Linked DNA regions of Homo sapiens: region 2 is linked to region 1. Evidence: promoter capture Hi-C in 16 types of primary human blood cells and fetal thymus (Javierre and others, 2016). All regions are on one chromosome and are shown on one strand. The core of a region is centred on a gene start or on the middle of the fragment in contact, and the rest is flanking DNA. Distances in the headings are between cores, read along the strand shown. Region 1 holds the start of ZFP64 (ZFP64 zinc finger protein). Region 2 has its middle 5.5 kb from the start of PFDN4.

What was found. Contacts are between HindIII fragments. The CHiCAGO score rates a contact against its expected background, and 5 or more counts as called.
Region 2: a fragment that was not itself captured here is called in contact with the fragment with the promoter of ZFP64 in region 1 in 1 of 17 cell types (naive B cells); the score reaches 5.3 in naive B cells.

The regions. Positions count from the first base shown.
Region 1 is chr20:52,189,028-52,196,948 of GRCh38, forward strand. It overlaps ZFP64 (ZFP64 zinc finger protein), which reads right to left and starts at 2,752. Exons shown (of 6, transcript NM_018197.3): 1 at 2,564-2,752. The coding sequence starts at 2,609. RefSeq lists enhancers at 1,607-2,463, 3,504-3,633 and silencers at 2,224-2,463, 2,824-3,093. The HindIII fragment of the contact is 28,170 bases long and covers 1-7,921 here.
Region 2 is chr20:54,198,618-54,206,538 of GRCh38, forward strand. No RefSeq gene overlaps it. Among named protein-coding and RNA genes, the nearest start is that of PFDN4, 5.5 kb to the right of the region's middle. RefSeq lists an enhancer at 6,790-7,019. The HindIII fragment of the contact is 5,383 bases long and covers 1,916-7,298 here.

The sequences.
Region 1 (7,921 bases), core at 1,502-4,001:
ATAAAGAAGGGGAAAATCACTCAATATTTCCATCTCTGCCTACCATGAATATTATAAAATATTTTTTTCCATTCATTTTCTTTACACTTAAAAGTTGCGTAAGATGGCTCACGCCTGTAACCCAGCACTTTGGGAAGCCGAGATGGGTGGATCACAACAAGAGATCAAGACTATCCTGGCGAACATGGTGAAACCCCGTCTCTACTAAAAATACAAAAATTAGCTGGGTGTGGTGGCACGTGCCAGTAATCCCAGCTACTCAGAAGGCTGAGGCAGGAGAATTGCTTGAACCTGGGACGTGGAGGTTGCAGTGAGCCAAGATCATGCCACTGAACTTCCAGCCTGGTGACAGCGAGACTTCATCTCAAAAAAAAAAAAAATTGCATAAGATCATAATATTGTAAATATTCAGATCATAGTATTGTAAAACTAATCCTTTTCCTAATTTTTTTCCTTTTTTTTTTTGAGATGGAGTTTTGCTCTTGTTGCCCAGGCTGGAGTGCAAGGGCACGATCTCAGCTCACTGCAACCTCCGCCTCCTAGGTTCAAGCGATTCTCCTGCCTCAGCCTCCGGAGTATCTGGGATTACAAGCGCCACCACCACGCCAGGCTAATTTTGAATTTTTAGTAGAAATGGGGTTTCTTCATGTTGGTCAGGCTGGTCTTGAACTCCCGACCTCATGTGATCCGCCCGCCTCAGCCTCCCAAAGTGCTAGGATTACAGGCGTGAGCCACCGTGCCTGGCCCTTTTTCCTAAACATTGCATAAACATTGTGCTATATCATTAAAATCTCTTCATATATATATGATTATTTAATGGCAATACATTATTCCATGGTGTCCATGCGTCATAATCTTCTCAGCAACAATAAGGTATTTACATAATTTCCAATTTTTCCCAAGTTAAATGATACAAGACTACCTTTGTGCATATATGGTTAGATAAAATTATGCCTCATAATTTTCTGAAAATTTGTAAGATATTTACATTATGTCCAATTTTCCCCAGGTCTAGCTAAGACAAGAAATCTCTGTTCAGAAATACAGTTTGGTTGACTTGCTAAGGAGACTGGGCTGAGCACTGTGATAAGCCATCTTGCAGGGATACACTTAAGCACTTTGCAATCAATGGATGGAAGGAAGGAAACCTTTTCTTCTCTGGCAGATACTGAGATACCCATGGAACTAACAAGGAAACAAGGAAGTGAGACATGAAGTAGCTTGCATTGCTGACGATTCCTTAATGATGGAATAGGACTGACACCCAGAATGAAAGGATTTTCATAACAGATAATGTCACTGGTATGTGGAAAGTGCAAAAGTAACGACATAGACCTTCGTTAGAATCTTGACACTGTCGCTTAACAACAGTGACTTTAAGCGTGGGTTTTCTCATCTGAAAAATGGGAGGAGAGGTTTCTAATCCATGGTTTTTGTTTGTTTTTAATTTCTCCAAGAAAAAACACGGGCTTGTTATGAGAATTAAATGGGATGGTGCTCGTACCAGCACAGTCCCCCCTCCCCGCCAGTCCCCCAGCATGTTACCTGCTGGGTTCTTACTGAGGTACACTATTTAAACATGGACATATCTGAGCCCCACCTAGGAGATACTGAGTCATAACAGGGTGGGGTGGGGAGGATGGTGTTTAGGAAAATCTGTGCTTTTCACAGTAATGCAAGGAATACACCGCCAAGTTTGGGACCCAGTGTCTCCCAAACTGTTAACAGTAGCAGCTAACAAGCTGGGAGCTTACTATGTGCCAGATTTTCTGCAAACCCCTGGTAGATGGGTTCTCAAACTTCATGTGCTTCAGAGTTGCCCAGGCAGCTACGAAGGACAGCGGATCCCCAGCCCCACCCCCGAGATTGAATGGGTGGGGCCCAGAAAGCTGTTTTAAAATACACGCTCTCGCTCCCAGGTGGCTGGTTGCACTCAGTCTCTGGACCACACTTTGGGAAACAATGCACCGGGAGAAACCAGGGACTTGAAAAACGCTGATGTCCTCCTCGGTTAAATAAAAACTGAACCCCAAACCCAAATAAAGCGACCACGGCCCCGTTTTCCATTCAGATCTCCACCCTTAATGAGGAAAAGGCTTTGCAATGAGCCGGCAGGACCTCGTGAGACCTGGTGATTCCCCCAATCTCCAGGCTCTAATTTTGAGCCACTGAGGCAGAAGTTTTCCCATCAGTGTTGCCCCGTTTACCCTAGATTCCTCCCTTTCTCCTGCCCGCCCCAAACTCCGCCTGATGGGGCGGGAATGCCCTTAGGGGGTGGCGATTGTCTGAACGGCGTGCCCTCCCCCACTGTTCCCTTCCAAGGGGTCTCGCAAGGCTGGAGAGCGCCCCCGGTCTTGCGCCAGGTCGGGTGCGCCCCCACCCCAAGCCCACTCCGGCGCCCCCTGCACAGCGCGCCCGCCGCGGTCCCCGAGACGCGGCTCCGAGCCGTCACCCCGATTTCGGGGCCCCGGGCCTGCTGGCTGCGTCGCAGACGTGCTTGGGCCCGGGCCCCGGAGCGCGCACTGGGCCCCGGAGCGCGCACTGCTCCCGGAAAAGCACTTACTTTGCACCGAGCCCGCGAAGCTCTCGCCCTCGCTGCTCGCGTTCATGGCCGCAGACTGGGAGGTCCCCGGCCGGCCGGGATGCCAAAGTGGGGGACGCTGATCTACATGGTGCAAGGACTTTTCCTTTTATTTTTCCACACCCCCCACCCTGCCTTCTCCCAACTCTGCGAGGCGGGGAGGACGGATGTAAAGCAAGCTGCACTTCCGCTGCCTAGAGGGCGCTGGCCGGGCCCGGCGCCCCAACCTGGCTTTGCAGCAGCGGCTCCCCGGGGAAGCGGCGGGCGAATCCCGAGGCCCAGGCCCGCGGAGCCCCCCAACGCCCCCGGGGAGCTGGATGGCCACGCGCGTCCCGGCGTGCTGGGCGACCGCGGGTGGCGAGGGATGCGCCCCTGCCCGCACTCTGCGTTCTCCGCGGACGCGATTGGCCTCCCCGGCTCGGGGCGCCTTTTGCACCTGCAACCCCAGGCGTTGGGCCCCCAGCGCGGCCGTGCAGCAGCGCTGCTCCCGGGACGCCTGGGTGGTTTGCGGGGAGACCCACGTGCGGCTGCCGTTGCGGGGTGGGTGCGCGGGGCGCGGCGAGCTCCGGAGAAACCCAGGTTGGGCGTGAGCGCTGGGCAAATCAGCAAAGCGCTGGGCGGGTCCCTTGCCCCGCTAGGGAGACTGAGAGGACCGCGAAGAGGTGGGGTCGTAGCGCGGAGGGACCCCTGCTCCAGGAGCTGCCAACTTTATCGTGCATCGCAGTCGCCTGAAAGGCTTGTTAGAACACACGCTGTTGGGCCCACCCTAGCGTTTCTGCTTCAGTAGGTCTGGGGCGAGGCGTGAGAACGAGCATTTCTAAGTTCCCAGGTGATGCCCCTAGTGTTGGTCGGCGTCCACACTCTGAGGACAGTGACCTCTCTGCTCTGTCCCTCATGTCTTACTACTACTGTCTCCCCCGGGCTCCTGCGTCAGCCCTATTGTCTCTCTGCCGACCCTCCCAAGCCTCAGACCTCTCCCAGCCTCGAGGGATTTGCCCATAGAGTCTGTCCTGCTTCTGAAGGTCAGCATTCAAATTCACACTCAGGGAGGCCATGCTTGGCCTAATCTAATCATTCTAATATTGCAGCCCCCTCCTCCTCCCCCAACCACTCCCTGTCTCCTTCCTGTTTTTTTCTTTTTCTTTTTCTTTTCTTTTCTTTTCTTTTCTTTTCTTTTCTTTTCTTTTCTTTTCTTTTCTTTTCTTTTCTTTCTTTCTCTCTCTCTGCCTCTCTCTCTTTCTCCCTTTCTTTTTTTAGAGAGGGGGTCTTTCTCTGTCTCTCAGGCTGGAAGAGTGGTCGGATCCTAGCTCATTGCAGCCTCCAACTCCTGGGCTCAAGCAATCCCCCCTACAGGCGTGGGCCACCACCCTGGCTCACTTTTTAATTTTTATTTTTGTAGAGATGTTGCCCAGGCTGGTCTCGAATTCCTGGCCTCAAGCGATCCTCCATCAGCCTCCCAAAGTGCTGGGGTTACAGGTGTAAGCCACCATGCCTGGCCTGCTTTGTCCTTAAAAGGTGTTAGATGGAACATATTATGTATCTCGAGTATATCTGCTTAGATATAATTTAGTTGTATATTATCTGTGTTCTCCTCCCCCTTATTTTCAGTAAGTCCCTGTAAAAATGGGGATTAAAAAAATCTCTTTGCTTCACTGATGTAGTCCAGTGACTTGGCTGGTGCCTGACACATAGTAGGCTTAGTAAATATGGCTTGTATAATGAATGGGATTTTCCCTGCTGCTGCCTCTAAGGCTTGGTTTCTGCCTGCAGCAGCTGTTTATTCTCAAGTGTTTGTGAAGTGCCAGGCACTGGGCTAGCTGCTGGAGGTAGACCAGGGAGGCAGTCAACATGAAATAATCAAATCAGTACTGTAAATATATATATATTTAATATATAATATTTAATATATTTAATATATATTTATATTTATGTATATATATATTATATATAAATATATACAATATATATTATATATAAAATATTATATATTATATATTATATATTTATATATATAAAAAATATATATAAAACTTCCTTTTTTTTTTTTAACCTTAAGTTCTGGGATACATGTGCAGAACGTGCAGGTTTGTTACATAAGTATACATGTGCCATGGTGGTTTGCTGCACCTATCAACCCATCACCTAGGTTTTAAGCCCCACATGCATTAGGCATTTGTCCTAATGCTCTCCCTCCCGTTGCCCCCCACCCCCTGACAGGCCCTGGTGTGTGATGTTCCCCTCCTGTGTCCATGTGTTCTCAACATTTTGCTAGTGATAAGGGCTCCAAAGACCATAAAATGGGGCTGTAATAGTGGCTGTAGAACTGGTCATAGCAGGCCTTTCCGAGCAGGTAATATCTGAACAAGGAGCCGGGGAGGATGCAGCCATGTGAGGATGAGGGGGGAGCAATTCCAGCCTGAGGAACTGGTGGGAGCAAAAACCCTGGGGCAGGAATGAGCTAGATGTAACTGGCTGTGGCCTGCCAGTCCCACTGCAGATCACACCACTCTCACCCTGCATTGCCCAGGCAGCTCCACCAGGCTCCTTGCTGTTGTTGCTCCTCCCTCTGCCTGGATTGCTTTCCTGGTCTTTGCAGGACTGGCTATTTTAGGTCATCCAGCATCAAATGAAATGTCGCCTTCCCAGAGAGACCTTTCCTATGTCTTACCTAAAGTATTCACTCTCCCTGCGACTCTGCGACATCACCTTCATGATACCTGTCTAGCTAACATGACCCAGCAGAGCACCGCAGCTTACGGCAATATTTATTTTTTATTGCTTGATGAATGTTTACATATGTGCACACCTGGGAAGTCCCCTTCCAAGACACACATTTCCAGCCCTGGTCGGCTCCCTCATGCACCTTCCCAGCCAATAATACTATTCTGGCCAGGCAAGGTGGTTCATGTCTGTAATCCCAGCACTTTGGGAGGCCGAGGTGGGCGGATCACCTGAGGTCAGGAGTTCTAGACCAGCCTGGCCAATATAGTGAAACCCCATTTTCTTCAGTACAAAAATTAGCCAGGCTTGGTGGCGCACACCTGTAATCCCAGATACTCCAGAGGCTGAAGCAGGAAAATTGTTTGAACCCAGGAGGCGGAGGTTGCAATGAGCTGAGATGGAGCCACTGCACTCCAGCCTGGGTGATGGAGCGAGACTGTCTCAAAAAACTATAAATAAATAAAATAATACTATTCCTACTATCCAATCTTGCAGAGGTCACCATTCTAACTTTTATTGTCACGATTCCTTTTGTTGAGAGCAATATATCTCACATTTGCCTGAAGAGAAGCATCATCTGGAAGGCTCACTAAAGAATGAGTTCTTGGGTTCCAAGCTATGCTTACTGCATCAGAATTTTCTGGGGTAAGACTTGGTAATCTGCAAATATCTCAAAAGTGCCCCAGGTAATTCTTATCATGATGTAAGTCTGGGCCTTACTGGTTTGGTGGTTAAGTGTGTAGGCCCTGGAGTTAGGCTATGCCACTGCCATGCAAATCCTGGAGTTGCTGAACTAGGATTAGTTGCTTAACCTTGAATAGGAAATTCAACTGCTCTGTGTCCCGGTTTTCTGTAGCTTGGAGATAATAGTAGCACCTAGTTCATTAAGCTGTTTTGTAGGAGGAACCAATCAATATCTGTAAAGTGCTTAGAATAGTGCCTGACTCATATAACTCGGCATAAATCCTAGCTATTATTATCTTTTAATTATTTTTGGTTATTATCTGTCTCCCTACCATGTAAGCTCCAGGAGGGCATAGACCTGGCCTATTTTATTTACCTGTATCCTCTGGGGCCTAGAACAGAGCCTGGCACACAGGCATCCTCAGTTCATTTTTTATTGTGAAATGATTTCATGCATGTTTCCATGAGCTCCATTTTAACCTTTTGCTACTATGTCCAGCCAACCTTCTCTATTACACATCTTGACCACTGCAACAGTCTTTTTCTGGTCTGAAAATGTCCTATTTTCATTTCTTATTTTTCTTTCTATACTTTTAAAAAATGTTATTTTTCAACATAAGCTCCATCAAGATCAACACACTCTTATTTATTTATTTAGAGACAGAGTCTCGCTCTGTCACCCAGGCTGGAGTGCAGTGGTGCGATCTTGGCTCACTGCAACCTCCACTTCCCAGGTTCAAGCGATCCTCCCACCTCAGCCTCCTGAGTAGCTGGGATTACCGGTGTGTGCCACCACGCCCAGCTAATTTCTTTGTATTTTTGGTAGAGACGGGGTTTCATCATGTTGGCCAGGCTGGTCTCAAACTCCTGGCCTCAAGGGATCTGCCTACCTTGGCCTCCCAAAGTGCTGGAATTACAGGTGTGAACCACTGCACTTGCCCTATACTTGTTTTTCTTATTGCAAAAGTATTAGAAATTGTTGGTTAGAATTTGAAAAAAAAATACAGGAAAACATAAGAAAATAAAACCCACTTATAATTCACTATGCAGAAATAACATTTTGATTGATGAATTTTTGTGTGTGTGTTGTATGTGTGCATACACACACATATAAATCATATTCATATATTTTATAAAAATGTAATTACAGCTTACATGTTTTTCACCTCCACATGAAATATACATGGCTATCTGAGATCTCACCAACCAGAGATATATACTTATATCTTTATGTACTACATGTCTATATCTTTATAGGCTTTTTTTCTGTAGAAATGTAATAGAATGAACCATATGAATTGCTGATATATTTATTTTTTACTTAAAAATGGTAATTTTATATGGTTCAAACCAATATGTACTCATAACATTAATATTATACTTCTTTCTTTTTTTTCTTGAGATGAAGTCTCACTCTGTCACCCAGGCTGGAGTGCAGTGGTTCAATCTCAGCTCACTGCAACCTCTACCTCCTGGGTTCATGAGATTCTTCTGCCTCAGCTAGGATTACAGGTGCCTGCCACCAGCCTGTTTTTTGTTTTTAGTAGAGTTGGGGTTTCACCATGTTGCCTAGGCTGGTCTTGAACTCCTGACCTCAAGTGATCCGCCTGCCTCAGCCTCCCAAAGTGCTGAGATTACAGGCGTGAGCCACCACTCTCAGCCAATGTTTGTATTTCTATTAGAGACAGGGTTTGTTATGTTGGCCAGGCTGGTCTCGAACACCTGACCTTGTGATCCGCCCGCCTCGGCCTCCTAAAGTGCTGGGATTACAGGTGTGAGCCACCATGCCTGGCCTCAAATTTTTTTAATAATACAATTCCTAATTTATAGCTCAGCACATGGCCTCCTGAAAAGAGACTTTTCCCAGCTTCCTTTGTAGCTACGCATGGCTATATGACTAAATTCTGACAACGTAAATGAAATGTGATGCAGCTT
Region 2 (7,921 bases), core at 3,357-5,856, 2.0 Mb after region 1:
GGAAAGCTTGTGTCTTAGTCAGTCTATGCTGCTACAACTAAAGTCCTGAGTCTAGGTAATTTATAAACAATAGAGATTTATTCCTGACAGTTCTGGAGGCTGGAAAATCCAAGATCAAGGCACCTGTAGGTTTAATGGCTGGTGAGAGGTCCAGTCTCTCCTTCTAAGATGCCAACTTGTTGCTGTGTCCTCTGCAGGGCAGAATGCTATGTCCTTACATGGTAGAAGAACAGAAGAGAATGAACCTTGATATGGTTTGGCTGTGTCCTCACCCAAAATCTCATCTTGAATTGTAATCCCCATAATCTCCATGTGTCAAGGGAAAGACCAGGTGGAGATAATTGAATCAAGGGGGCGGTTTCGCCTACTCTGTTTTCGTGATAGTGAGTGAGTTCTCACGAGGTCTGATGGTTTTGTGTTTGGTAGTTCTTCCTGCATTTATTCTTGATCTTGCCGCCCTGTTAAGAAGGTGCCTTGCTTTCCCTTCACCTCCCGCCATGATTGTAAGGTTCCTGAGGCCTCCCCAGCCATGTGGAACTGCGAGTCAATTAAACCTCTTTCCTTTCTAAATTACCCAGTGTTGGGCAGTTCTTTATAGCAGTGGGAGAATGGACCAACACAAACTCGTTCCCTCAAGCCCTTCTATAAGAGACCCAATCCCATTCTTGAGGGCTCTGTCCTCAGACTTAAAGACCCCCGCCTCATTGTAAAACCACATTGGCCATTAAATTTCAACTACGAACTCTGGAGGACACATTCAAATCATAGCAGCTTCCTTGATGGGAGTAACATAGACGCTGAGTCTTAAGGATAGGCAGACGGTAGAATGCAGCTGGCTGAACAATAGGAGAAAGGCATCATAGGCAGCAGGAAAAGCAAGTGCAAAGGCCCTGAGGCAGGAGGGAGCGTGTAGCATTCACAGAATGGAGGCCCAAGAGGGTGAAGCACAGTGAGTGAGGGGAAAGATGGTCCAAAACAAGGTCAGGGAGGGAGGCTAGGCCCTGGTAAGAAATTTAAGTGCAATGGGAAAACAATGAAACATTTCAAACAGCGTTATGGAAAAACCATTTGCAAAATTGTTTAGCTAAATACAAACTGACAGTACTTAACATTACCCAGCACAGTAAGATTCAAAAGAAGTGCAAAATATTCGGAAGGTGGATTTGAATGATTTAAGTCTGGGGAACACTGTCATGTTCCTCGGGTGCCCTCTGCAGGCGCCAAACCAAATTGCTGCGTGATCCTGGGGATTTGCTCCTTCTTGCCTCTCACTCCTCATGGCCAGCATGGAAGAGGAATCTGATCAAGGTTTCCTTTTTAAATCTTAGAACCAGGAGCCTGGAGCAGGTGTTGCAGGTTTTGGAGGGCACCCAGGTGCGTACTGCCAGGAAATGATGTGATAACCTCATTCTCGCTTTGTGACAAAATCTAAATTAAACTGGGACATGTCTGGACAATTTTGTAGCTTACATACCAATTCAAACAGGTTTTTTTTTTCTCTTCATTTTCCAGTCAATATACTGACCATTTCTGTCCTTATATCTTCCTCACGGAGTGTTCCTGATGGTAGTCACACAGTCTTTTATTATAATTTTATGAGTTCTTGTTGGAGCGATTAATAGCATTTATACTAATAAAACTTTCTAACATACTGTATAATTTACTTATATGTTTTGGTTATGATCTTTTTCCTATCAATAGAATGTAAGCTACATGAGGACAAAGAGTTTTGTCTGTTTTTTCAGTGTTATGCCCTCAATGCTGAGCACCTGCCCTTCTTGGTCCAAGCAACATCCCACTGATTCCACAGTCCTCAGGGACCACTCCAGCAAGATTCAAGCTCTTTCTCCCCTGGACTCGCCCCAGGGTTGCAGCTTCTGGTGCTGTGACTTTGGTCATATGTTTGCCAACCATAAGCTTCATGATGCCAAGCACCTTGTCTGCTTTATTTTTCTGCTTGCAATAGCACCTAGCATGGTAGAAATTTCAAACAAACACACGCATAAATGCTCTCATTTAGGTATGTTAAAACAGAAGGCTGGGAGTTACAAGTTCATATACCTGGAGGGCCTCACAGGTGAGCACATGGATGGGCAGGTGCCCTACATGTACCTGTGTGCGCTCTGTGAGTGGGGGGGTCTGCCAGGCCCAGGAGAGAGCCTGCTGGCCGAATGTGCCAGGCCAAAGCAGCACCAGCAGCTGCCCATCAGGCAGAAACACAGGTGCAATGTCACCAGGATGCTGATTGTACCAGCTCAAGCAAAACTAAAAATCTCAAATATTGGTTCCACTAAAGAAAAATACCATATGGGTCAAAGAAAACATAGCCTGGATCCAGTCAGTGGGAGGCCAGTTTTCAACCTGGCATAAGGGAAAGTCTTTCCAAATGGTCATTGTTGATTCTCCTCCCTGACCTGCAGGATCCACATGCTTCCACTTGTACCCCATGCTTCTCCCCGGAGAGCCAGGGACAGTCCCCAGCTGGAGAAAGGACCAGAAACAAAGGTCGGAAATGCTCCACATCAGGAAATGAGAAGATGCTCAGCAGACTTGAAAGTCCCTGTACCATGCGGACTTGCAGAACGAGTTTTTCTGCTAGGAGAGAGATTAGCTCAAAGGATAGCAAGGTCTGGGGAGAGGAGAGGGACAAGAATGATGAGAAATAGAATGAGAAGGAAAACCTCTAAAGCAAGGGGAAGATAGGGGCATCAGAGGGAGCTGAGTCAGCACCAAGACTGCCAGGAGCCGCCACTGTCCTCTGTCCAGATTCAATGACACTGCCCTGTGCCCGCAGACTCTCTGCCCAGTGCCTTTTCTCTCTGCTTTTGTATGGTCTGTGTGGGGAACTAATGCATGGAGAAGCGTGCACCATCTCATGATAATGATGGAGCAGCCAAAGCCTCATAGAGCATCCGATTGGAGCCATGGCTTCTTTGAGCCCAGCCAAAGGGATCCAGCCCCTACCTCCATATCACCTGTTAGAGGAGACAGTGCCCCCTAGCCCTTCTGTCTCTGGAGCCCCTGTCTCCTGGTGCAATTTCTCAGCTCAGTGACTAGCTAACCAGGCACTTGGACATTAAGGAAGCATGGTGATGAATAAGTGGGCCCTGCATGAGGCAGGCTTCTCAGGGTTTCTTGGCAGCACATGTATTAGCATTTGGACCAATCTGATTTTATTTTATTATTGTTATTTACATTTATGTATTTATTTTTAATGTTGTGGGTACACAGTAGGCATAAATATTTATGGGGTACCTGAGATATTTTGATATGGGCATACAATGTGTAATAATCACATCAGGGGCCGGGTACCGTGGCTCACACCTGTAATCCCAGCACTTTGGGAGGCCAAGGCAGATGGATCAGCTGAGGTTGGAGTTTGAGACCAGCCTGACCAACATGGCAAAACCCCGCCTCTACTAAAAATACAAAATTCACTGGGTGTGGTGGCGCAAGCCTGTAATCTCAACTACTCGGGAGGCTGAGGCAGGAGAATCCCTTGAACCCGGGAGGTGGAGGTTGTGGTGAGCCAAGATCACGCCATTGCACTCCAGCCTGAGCAACAAGAGCAAAACTCTGTCTCAAAAAAAAAAAAAAAAATCACATCAGGGTAAATAGTGCATCCATCACCTCAGGCATTTATCCTTTGTGTTACAAACAACTCGGTTACACTCTTTTAGTTATTTTAAAATGTACAATAAATTATTGTTGACTGTAGTCACCCTGTTGTGCTATCAAATATTAGATCTCATTCATTCTAGATGACTAATTTTTATACCCATTAACCATTCCCACTTCCCCGTCCCCTAGTACCCTTTTCAGCCTCTGGTAACCATCCTACTCTCCATTTCCATGGGTTCAGTTGTTTTAAGGCTTTTAGCTCCCACAAATCAGTGAGAACACGCAACATCTGTCTTTTTGTGCCTAGCTTATTTCACCTAACATAATGTCTTCCAGTTTTATCCATGTTATAGCAAATGACAGGCTCTCATTCTTTCTTTTTTTTATGGCTGAATAGTACTCCGTTGTGTATAGGTGCCACATTTTCTTTTGTATTTTCATTTTACTTTAAGTTCTGGGATACATGTGCAGAACGTGCAGGTTTGTTACATAGGTATATGTGCCATGGTGGTTTGCTGCACCCATCAACCTTCATCTAGGTTTTAAGCCCTGCATGCATTAGGTATTTGTTCTAATGCTATCCCTCCCCTTGCCCCCTACCCCTGACAGGCCCTGGTGTGTGATGTTCCCCTCTCTGTGTCCATGTGTTCTCATTGTTCAACTCCCACTTACGAGTGAGAATGTGTGGCATTTTGTTTTCTGTTCCTGTGTTACTTTGCTGAGAATTATGGCTTCCAGTTTAATCCATGTCCCTGCAAAGGACATGATCTCATTCTTTTTTATGGCTGCATAGTATTTCATGGTGTGTATGTGCCACATTTTCTTTATCCAGTCTATCATTGATGGGCATTTGGGTTGGTTCCAAGTCTTTGCTATTGTAAATTGTGCTGCAATAAACATATCTGTGCATGTGTCTTTATAGTAGAATGATTTATAATCCTTTGAGTATATACCCAGTAATGGGATTGCTGGGTCAAATGGTATTTCTGGTTCTAGATCCTTCAGGAATCACCACACTTTCTTCCATAATGGTTGAACTAATTTACACTCCCACCAACTCTTTATCCATTCGTCTGTTGATGGACACTTAGGTTGTTTCTGAATCTTGGCTATTGTGAATAGCGCTGCAATAAACATGGGAATGCAGACATCTCTTCGATATACTGATTTCCTTATTGGGGGTTATATACCTAGCAGTGCAATTGCTGGATTATGTGGTAGCTCTATTTTTAGTTTTTTGAGGAAGCTCTCTACTGTTCTTTGCAGTGGTTGTACTAATTTACATTCCCACCAACAGCGTATGAGGGTTCCCTTTTCTCCACATCCTCTCTGGCATTTGTTATTGTCTGTCTTTTGGAAAAAGCAATTTTTAGCTGGGATGAGCTGATATCTCATTGGAGTTTGGATTTGCATTTCTCTGATGTTCAGTGATGTCGAGCACCTTTTCATATCTCCATTTGCCATTTGTATGCCTGCTTTAGAAGAATGTCTATTCAGATCTTTTGCCCATTTTTAAACTGGACTATTAGTTTTTTTCCTATTGAGTTGTTTGTGCTCCTCATATACTCTGGCTGTTAATCCCTTTTTTCTTGCCTTATTTCTTAATTAAATATTAAACTAAATATTTAGTTTGCAAATATTTTCTCTCATTCTGTGGTTTGTCCAATGTAATTTTAAAGTCCTAAAAGAATTTAATTCACTGACTCTTCAGTATGTTATAACCTGAACTTCTTGGCTGATTTTATGGGCCTCAGTGTTAGACAGCACCTAAGGATGTGTCATGTTAAAGCCTCTTGGTTTAACCTGTCTTTGTTCTCACCTGCCATTGGCCACCTGCTCCACCCCAGCAGCTCCCACAGTGACCAGCTCCACACCGGCCATGGTGTGCAGACTTGCAGGGCTGCCTCTCCGTCCAGTTGGCTCGTGCTTACAGCCTCACACCTTGTTCCTCCACCTGGGGGCTTCCCTGTGGAAGGCTGAGGTGAGAAAAATTATGGGAGCCTCAATGAGCAACCTGGAAGTGTCTGGGAGTGAGGTCCCCGTGGGGCCAGCCTTTGAATGGGAGGCAGGAACTGGCAAATAAGAGTTCTCCCCAGCTGAACTCTCCTGTGTTCTGGTTAACACAGCCTCTTACAGGACAGTCCCCAGAGAGGGAGCAACCAGTCGTGCTTGATACCAAGCAAAGGTCGGCTTGGTGAGGCCTCCTGGTATGGGCTCTGCTGCCTTCCCTGACCTGCTTCATTCCGCTTTTTCCTCGCTCTGGCTGCCCTGGGATTGTACTCCTTAATGAAGAAGCAGTATCTAGGCCTTTGCCTTGGGGTCTGCTTTAAAGATTCCGGCTGGGATGGCTTCTAACCATTGTCATTCTTCTCCCCCAGGATGCTTTCCAATTTCTACACATCTGAAATGGATGCTACAGTCTCAAAAGGCAGCACTAATCATGGCCATGGGGGTAGTTAGCAGTAATACCAAGCCAGGGGAGTTCTTGAAGAGGAGATTTGAAAGATCATAACTTGGGCAGTGGAATTTCAGACGCAACTGGGCTGAACTGAGAAAGTAATCATAGCTAACATTTCCTGAGAGCTTACAATGCATTTTATTTGCACGTATTATCTCTTCTACTCTTTGCAACAAGCCTATTAGAGACACATTATTATTTTTGCCATGAAAGTAACTTGTCTAACATCAAAATTAGAAAGTGGTGCAGGTATGATTTGAACGCAGGCAGTCTGGCTCCAGTAAGCCCTTTATTGAGTCTTAAACACTTTACTCATGCAAGTCAGGTGACAGGAGCTGCAATGTCCACTATGAGCTGCCCACTCGGGGACACATCTGACTTTATACATGACTTGTGGTGATGGGTAAAGCCTGGTGCTTAGGAGAGTGGTCTCTGGAGCCAGGTTCACCAAGAGTTCGAACCCAGGCTCTGGTACTTCCTGGCTGCTGGAGCCTTGGCCAAGTAGCTTTGTCCTCCTGAAACTCTATTTCCTCTCCTGTAAAATGATCGATAACAATATTGTGTGGTATGGTGAGGATTAAAACATTTAGCAAGGTGCAGGCCACATAGTATGTACCCTGTCAGTTTTGTATGTTACTGTTACTATTGCATTAGTCCGTTTTCACATTGCTGATAAAGACATACCCAAGACTGGGTAATTTATAAAGAAAAAGAGATTTGATGGACTCACAGTTCCACGTGGCTGGGGAGGCCTCACCATCATGGTGGAAGGCAAAAGGCGCATCTTACGTGGTGGCCGACAGGAGAGAATGAGACGAGAGAAAGGGGAAACCCCTTATAAAACCATCGGATCTCATGAGACTTATTCACTACCATGAGAACAGAATAGAGGAAACCGCCCCCATGATTCAATTATCTCCCACCAGGTCCCTCCCACAACACATGGAAATTATGGGAGCTACCATTCAAGAGGAGATTTGGGTGGGAACACAGCCAAACCATATGAACTCTCATTATTATTATACTTCAGCAAAAGGCAAAGGTTAACGTAGGTGAGAGTTTAGGTCCCTTCTGGTCCTAAGATCTATGCACCTGAGGATTGAAGTGCTTCTCTCTCTCAAAGCCCCTATGCTACTTTCGGTCCCCACCATACAATTACATTTCCTCAAAATTCCTGCTCCGCTGTTCCTCAGCTTTCAACTCAGCCATTTCTCAATAAAGCTTTGAAAAAGTCAGAATTCTTTCTCTCTTTCTCTCTCTCCCTCCCCCAGTTTGGCCTCACCAAGTTCTAAAACATGCCCAGATCTGGCCCCTGCCTTGCACCCCAGCCTCGCTCCATGCTGCTCTGTCCTTTCTACCATGTCTCACCAGGCTCTTTCCCTCTCAGCCCTCCACCCCTGGGGTCCACTTTCGTCTCCTCTCCCCATGCTGAGGCCTCCCATTTTCTCTTAGCTTAGAGGCCAGCTCCAGAGCTGGCCCCCACCCCTCCCCTCTGTGCTCTGCCTCAGCACCTCATTTATCTCCTTCATGCACTTGGTACCATTTGTGACAATTTTGCCCTTTATTTCTGTCTCCCTCTCCACCATTTGTTTCTTGCAGTGCTTTTACATTGAGCTCTGGAATAAACAGATATCACTGATGGAGCATCTCCTATGTGCCAGACCCGGTGCTAAGATTTAACCCTGGAAAAACATCTTTATTCAACAAATACTTTTTTGAGCACATATGAGCTACACACTGGAAAGTCCCAATACTAAGGGCCTGGAGAGCCCAGAATAGGCAGGAGAACAGGCGATGCCCGTGGCGGGCTAGGTGGTTCGGTGGGGAGGGCACAGGGTGCTA